2 separate regions of the Homo sapiens genome follow, and region 1 is linked to region 2. Evidence: promoter capture Hi-C in human tissues and cell types (Jung and others, 2019). All regions are on one chromosome and are shown on one strand. The core of a region is centred on a gene start or on the middle of the fragment in contact, and the rest is flanking DNA. Distances in the headings are between cores, read along the strand shown.

Region 1 (3,816 bases), core at 778-3,277, 700 kb after region 2:
AGGTTGTGCAGGGCGACCACGGAACGGATCAGCGAGGCCAAGTACACTACCACCATCTGGTCATTGGTCTTCAGGTAAAAGGCCTTGACGAACTCCTGCAGGCTGACATCTGGCAGCAGGTTGAAGACGTCCTGCAGCTGGTAGATGATCTGGTGGTTGATGGGCAGCTTGCCTGTGGCGACTTTTTCCAGGTAGCTCCTGATATCCAGAAGCTTGGAGTTCAGTCCCTTCAAACCATGGACCTGGTTTGTGATCCGCTGGGACAGAGTGCCCACCGTCGTGTCTTTGATATCTCTGTAATAACCCACAGTTAAAAAGGGCAGGAAAAGGCATCAGGGTACCATGTTATCAGGCAAGTTCTTACATTCTAAGAAAATTCCTAGCTTTGTTGGGTGAGGCAAGTTTTTAAAAGAAAAATGTCACTTCCCCATTTGATAAAGATTTCGTTATCAATTACCTTAATTTCGTTATCATTTGGAACACATTTTATCTTTCTCATCACAGGACATTTTTCAAAAAACAATTATAAAAGGGAGCTAAAATAAAACCATTTCCACTTAAGGAAAAAAAAATTGCTTAGGTCAACAGTTCAGATCTACCAATAACTTTCTGGGTAACCTTGTACTGAAGCTGTCTCTCTCAGCTTTCCTGTTCCTAAAAGGATGGCATTTTCTCTACATGCATCTCCAGAATATTGAGAAGCTTAACTAAGATGGTAATTTTTAGAACTAGAAGGAACCTCATTGACTGATAAAACTATAACCTTTTTCAAATAAGGATTATAATAGATATAGGATTTTAAAACAAAAGCTACTCCAAGATGAAGATTCTCTCCAGAAAATGGGCTACATTTGTTGAGAAGGACACCTAGTGGAGAGTGCAGGCCTGCATTTATTTCATACCTCTCTTCCCGTCAGTCAACATTATAGTTTCCAGACAAGGTATGCTATCCACAAAGTCATAAATTGTAACTCAAGACATTTTACAGTTGATGTAGTTCAAACACTTCAATTTACAGACAATAAAACAAAGGTCTGGAAAGGGACTGTGATTTGCTCAGAATGGCAGACTTGTTAGTGGACGGCCAGGACGAGACCCCAGGTCTCCATATTCCCGACACAGACCTCTTCCTTACACTGTGTGACCTCTCGGGCAGTGAATGATTTTGATGCTGTACTAGGGTCTCACCGTAACAAGTGTTCAACTCCAACTTCCTCAGCTTCCTCTGCTCCAATTTCACTGGTCACGTGTTCAAATGTTTTCGAGGTTGGAGTTCCATCCTGGGAGAGGAAGCCTAACTATAATTATTTATTTTCCACAAACGAACTGACATGTGTTCCTTTTCGCACCCTGAGTCTTTTGCTTTAAGTCAGCTCATTTAATGAGTGCATGACTGAGAATTTTCTATGGCAAGGGTGGGTAAGGCTTACTTTGAAAGCTTAGCCTTCAAAGCTAACATCACTGTGGTGCTGCTCAGTGATGCAGTCTGCTGGGGCACTGTGCGTTGAGAAAAATCTGGAAATTCCCTCAAGCCCACACTTGGCATGAACGCACAGGGAGGTCTCAGGTTGATTCTTAAAAGTATACCGCTTTGGCCAGGCACGGACCTGTAATCTCAGCACTTTGGTACGCCAAGAATTCGAGACCAGCCTGGGCAACATGGCGAAAACCCCTCTCTACTAAAAATACAAAAACTAGCCAGGTGTGGTGGCGGGCGCCTGTAATCCCAGCTACTCTGGAGGCTGAGGAACGAGAATCACTTGAACCTGGGAGGTGGAGGGTGCAGTGAGTCGAGATCACGCCACTGCACTCCAACCTGAGCAACAGAGTGAGATTGTCTTAAAAAAAAAAAAAGTATATAGTTCTTTCTAGAATGGACAATATACAGAATATCTGTACTGAAGCAAGTTCATGCCAGAAAATAAAACTTTTAGCCCTTTTTTGTCTCTTGGATCAAACGATTCCACAGTGCCCAAACCAATGCAATCAGAATAGTTGGCTTTCTGGTGGTCTGAATTAATCAAAGGATCCATTGGGGACATGGTTCATGGTGGTCACCCAGTGACATCCTGAAGGGACTTCGAAGATACTTTTCTCAGACCTTGTGCCAGAAGAGGCTGTACGTCTCCTGTCAAAAGGCTGTAAACTGTCTGTAAGGGAGGAAGGACAGCATAGTGGTAAGAGTACAGGCTCCACAGCCAGGCTACCTGGGTTCAAATTTGGCTCTGCCATGTATGTAATAGGCGAGCTCCAAGACCTTGGGAAAGTCACTCAACTCACACTAAGTACTATAAAAGTTAGCCGTGATTATTTTATTTAGGATAGTGTTAATCCTGCAAGGGGCATTCTCCTCTTTGCTTTGGATGCCAGGATGGTCAGAACCTTTAACAGTGTTGTGGGATTTCTTGGTAACCTTTACAGGCACTAATTCTTCTTGAGCTTCACCTTGTAACATGACCCATATGTCCCCTTTATCCCCTACTAAAAACACCTTGCTTCACTGGGGTGCATGTGTACGAGCAACCTCAATTCCTTTTCTAAAGAGGCAGGAGAAAAATTCACTAAAAACAACTGGGTCAAAACCAGGGATGAAAGCCCTACTGCAATTAGGCAATACATTTGGCTCTAAGCTCCCTGGTAGCCAGGCAAAGAGAAAAGCCCCAGGAAGACAGAGCTCGATGCAAGGAACATTTGCACAGAGCTATCCTAAAATACCCTTTTCTAAATCTTAAAACTGAAAGTAAGGATAAATACTGCATATCTAAATTCAAAAGGAGACCGTAATTCATCCCTTAAACTTTTCATTTGTAAAAGGGGAATTTGGATTTCTTGGTTTTTTGGGGGACAGCGTCTCAACTGTCGCACAGGTTGGAATGCAGTGGTGTGATCATTGCTCACTGTAACCTTGAACTCCTGGGCTCAAACAATATTCCCGTCTCAGCCTCCTGAGTAGCTTGGAATACAGGCATGGACCATCATGCCTGGCTAATGTTTTTATTTTTGTAGGTGTCTTGCTATGTTGCCCAGGCTGGTCTTCAACTCCTAGGCTTAGGCAATCCTCCCACCTCGGCCTCTCAAAGCACTGGGTGAGCCACTGTGCCTGGTTGGAATTTAGATTTCTATGTTCCTCTCCATTTCCAAAATGTGGTGATTAAAAAAGTCAAAGGGAAAAAAACTACCTTCTTTTGTTACGGAGACAAAGGATTTGTTGACCTGAAAATTGAAAAAAAAAAGCTAATCACCCAATAAGTAGCAGTCTAACCTCCCAGGTTCATAGCAAGATGACTTACATCATGGACTTCTTCCACTGAAATGTACGCTTCTGTAGGCAGCCCTAGGTCCTTCGGCTTCACATCAATGATGACCAATACCTGGCAGAGAAACACATCTTAGCAAGTCATCTCACGCCCAGCACAAAAGGGGTAATTTCAGGCATTCTTCTCACAATTACTAAAGCTATTTCTTGTAATCAATTAGAAATGAACCAGAATATTCAGCAAAAATGCATTTATGCTTCAAATGATCTCATCATTTCTTCTGCTTTTCGATCCCCTTCATTAATAAGCTGAGGGGCAGTACAGTGCCTAGCACAAGGACATTAGAGTCAACACAGCCAAAATTTCAATCCCAGTCCCACCCCTTACCAGACCTTCCTAACCATTCTGAACCTCAGTTTTCTCATTTGTAAAGAGGATATACAGTTACCGAGAGGATTACGAAACTCATACACCTGGTACTTAGCAGGTATAAACTATTATTTATCAAATATATTAGGTCACAGTATACTTCACAGAGCACTACAAATCAACAGAAGTT
Region 2 (3,916 bases), core at 1,417-3,916:
TAGAGAAACTTCTTACAGTACTTTTAAGTTCAAAACCAGATGCTCATTACAGTTCTTTTAAACACCAAACTAGTCATCTCAAAAATATGGCTAACTCTCTGGACTAAATTCCATAGGAAAAATTATTAATTTCAAAATGCCTAATTTTGATCAAATGCCTGAAAGAGCCAAAGGCAATCATGTCCTGCTTCTCACTCAGGGCAGAGTTCCATGAGGTCAGAAAAGCTCCAATGATATCCGGAGGTCTGTCAGAGATTAAAATATCATCCTAACAATTCACAAGCTACTTCTAAGTGTTACCCTAAATTAGTCACTAATCGTTTCTCCCCCAACACTATTTCACAAATTAAAGTTTACAGAATTGACAAAAAACCAAACCAAATGAAAACAAACCCCAGGCTATTTGCAGGGGGGGGGAAAGAGATACCCCAAAAGTCAACCCTATTTCACAGTAGTTAAAAGAGTGATCCAACAGATATTACCCTCCATAAAGTACCCTAAAGGCAGGAGCAATCTTTCCCCTACACTATCTAAATTTTCCCAACTCACCCAAAAGAATCTTAAGATGTAACTTCATCACTCAACTTGCCAATTAGCAAATAGCGGCCCCCACATCCCTTTTGGCCAATTTTCTAGATGCCTGACCTAGCAGACAGACCTGTTTTCCTCCTGCCAGGCCTTTTTTGCCCTCCCGCTAGGAGCCTGGGAAATCCCCCTCCAACCTTTTGCTGGCCTGTCACCAGAAGTTCATAAAATGAATTCATCCAGATTCTCTGAATCCTCCTTTTCCCCAGTCATGTGCCAACAGCCAGGCAATAATGCCCCACCGTGACAGGCTCCCTGTTACAAAAAGATGCAGATTCACGGGAAGACCAAGCACTTAGCATGGAGCAGAAGAAAAAAAGATGGAGGGAGGCGAGAGTCGCGGAGCCAAGCCTGCTGCATGCAGTACGGGTGACCACAGCCCGGGTCCTGCAAAGCCCCCGCGAGACTCGCCGGCTGGGCCCTCCGTACAGCAGCCACACCTGTCTATGCCAGCCGCCTGCCGGCTGCTCCATTTTAAACATTTCAAACAGATCTCCAGCAGGGTGGCAAAACTGGGCACCTCTCTCTCCCAGCAAGAGTGAGAGCCCTAATCCAGGCATCACTTGCCCCTGATTTTATTTCATTTTCACACACTCTGTTTAGGAGACACTGCTTGCTCCAACTGGCTCCATCTCTCCGTTACCGGTGAGGCAGGCACAGTGCTGCAGTGGCAGAATGGAAGTACCCAGGCTGACTTGCTCTCAGCCAGACACGACCTCTTCTCTGAGGAGGGTGATGCCAATAAATGGAACTCCAATAGGTAGGCTTCGCTCTGCCCTTCCACAAGTGAACACACGCCGTGAGTCCCTAAATCGCCAGGCTCCGCAGCCTCGCAGAAAGCCTAGTTTCCAGACGGTAGGTATCCCATTTATCCCTTGGCATCGGGAACCAAAGGGAATGCAGACAGATCCCGGTCGTGCACTACATTCCCAAACCTTGGCACGCACGCGAAGGCTTGGGGCGCCCCGGCGCGCCCTCCCTCCGAGGCCTCCACCACCCGCGGACTCACCACTATGCGAGCTGAACCACCTGGGTGCGATGTGCAGAGGTAGAGCATCCGCCAGCGAGGCTCGGGAGCCCAGGTACAGCATCCCGTCTCTATGGTGACCGCCGCCCGTCTCCTGGTAACCATTGCCATGGGCATAGGTGGAGTCGGACGCAGACCCTCCGCCGCCGGGCGCCCTCTCGGAGTCGCCGGTGCCCCGGGAGGCGGGGGTGTAGAGGCCAAAGGGCACCCCCCCGGCCGTGCTGGGGTCCATGCCCATGCCTGCCACCGAGCTGACCGAGCGGCTGCGCAGCCCCATGGCCCCGCCGCCCGTCCGGTAGTGCCCGAAATGGGGCGCCCCTCCCGGCGGCGGCACGGCGCTGTCATCGGTGGAGACCCCCGGGAAGGGGCCCCGGGAGCGGGCCGCCGTGCTCTGCTTGCCCCCCATGCTCGCCCGGGCCCCGGTGGGGCGGGAACCTGGAGGCCGAGACCCTCCCCCACTTCTCAGCAGCAGGGGGAGGGCTGGGCGAGCATAAAGGGGGAGGGAGTCAAAAAGGAGACCCGGAGGGAGAAAAGGAAAAAAAGCAAAAGGAAAAAAGGAAAAAACCCGCGGGGCGGAAGAGGCAGGCGGGCGGGCGGGGATCCCAAACTCAGAATTTCAAACGATCCAAGGCAAACGCATGTTTCCCCTCAAGGTCCAAAGAGGCGCAGTCCGGCGCGGGCTCCGCGCGCCACAGGCCGCCCCCGGGCTCCGAAAGCCGGGGGAGCCGCAGGGAAGGAGGGAGGGAGGCGGCGGCGAGCGGCGGGCGGGCGCGGGGAGGCGCCGGAGGAGGCCGCCCGCCCCGCGGGAGGAGGCGGAGGAGGGCCGGGGGCGCCGGGCGCGTCCCCCGCCTCAGGACGCCGCGACCATGGACGGCGGCCCGGACCCCTCCAGGCCTCGGGCGGGCCGCGGCGCTGGGCGGCCAGGCGCAGCTCGGGAAGCCGCGGTCGCGTCGCGTCGCGCTCTCGCTTCAGCCGCCGCCGGCCCCGCCAGCCGCGCCGCCCCGCTCGGTCCCGGGCTGCGCTCGCCGGCGCTCCTCGCCGCCGTGGAGACAATGGAGGGCGGCAGAGCGCAGGCGCGGCCCGCGCCCCCTCCCCCTCCCCCCGCCGGGTTAACCCTTTCGCGGTCCCTGCGGCGCCTGGGCCGCTGACGCCCCAGCAGTCCCCACCCACCGCCCGCCCCCGGCCGGCCTGTGACCTGGGCGGCCTGACCACTGGGCGTTAGCCACAGAAACCAGATGTCTTTCAAAAGCAAACACTTCTTAAGTCCCCGAAAGTGGCAAATTATTCAGGGGGAACCAAGTATGGGGGAGGGGCAGCAATGGTTCGAGGGGGTGGGAAGGAAACACCGGGAAGAAGGAGATTTACTCCTTACGCCTACCTGGCTCTGAGGGTCACCGGTCGAGCTCCCCTCCTGGCACAAATTTGCCCCCACAGCACCCTCTGGTGGACGTGATGTCCATTCTTTCGGGGGTTCCCCATCCAAGCACCCCTCACGTCCGGAATCTCAACATTTGGCGGGGTTTAGTTATTTGGGGGTAAACAGCGCCATGGGGACACTTGTGAATCCGGCGTTTTGCTGACACTAGATCATAACTTCCTATTTTGGGCTTAAGCAAATGAGTAGATTCCTTAGCTAAAATGTAATTTTCAGAATCAATAGATGTACCATAAAAAGTGAATAGATATGGGTATGGAAATAGAACAACGCAGCTAGAAGTGATTATAGAAACCTTCTGTCCAAGGCTGGAGCCCTGTTTTGTTTACCATGTGCTGTGTTTCGGCCCTCACCACGGGCCAAGGACACGGTGGGTACTCAATAGGTGTATTGTTGACCAAGCCTGAATCATTTGCAAGGGAGTGTTCCTTTGCTACCTCAAGCCGTCTTTCTCCTATATTCACATTCATTTATTGAACAACTGTTTTTTTTGTTTTGTTTTGTTTTTGTTTTTGAGACGTAATCTCGCCCTGTCACCCAGGCTGGAGTGGTGTGGCGTAACCTCGGCTCACCGCAACCTCCGCCTCCCGGATTCAAGTGATTCTCCTGCCTCAGCCTCCCGAGTAGCTGGGATTACAGGCACATGCCACACTGCACCTGGCTAATTTTTTGTATTTTTAGTAGAGGCGGGGTTTCACCGTATTGGCCAGGCTGGTCTTGAACTCCTGACCTCAGGTAATCCACCTGCCTTGGCCTCCCAAAGTGTTAGGATTACAGGCATGAGCCACCGCGCCCGCCCTGTTTTTCTTTTTCTTTTTTTTCTTTTCTTTTTTTTTTTTTTTGAGACGGAGCCTTGCTCCTCCCAGGCT

The links. Contacts are between HindIII fragments. The study calls those that stand out against the background at their distance.
Region 1: a fragment that was not itself captured here is called in contact with the fragment with the promoter of ZNRF1 in region 2 in 1 of the 25 tissues and cell types used here (dorsolateral prefrontal cortex).

Annotation. Positions count from the first base shown.
Region 1 is chr16:74,301,767-74,305,582 of GRCh38, reverse strand. PSMD7 (proteasome 26S subunit, non-ATPase 7) reads right to left here. Exons shown (of 7, transcript NM_002811.5): 5 at 3,291-3,371; 6 at 1,189-1,280; 7 at 1-294. Among named protein-coding and RNA genes, the nearest start is that of PSMD7, 6.9 kb to the right of the region's middle. The HindIII fragment of the contact is 3,140 bases long and covers 458-3,597 here.
Region 2 is chr16:74,997,774-75,001,689 of GRCh38, reverse strand. ZNRF1 (zinc and ring finger 1) reads right to left here and starts at 2,666. Exons shown (of 5, transcript NM_032268.5): 1 at 1,595-2,666. The coding sequence starts at 2,018. RefSeq lists an enhancer at 795-854 and silencers at 1,645-1,954, 2,355-2,874. The HindIII fragment of the contact is 18,053 bases long and covers 1-3,916 here.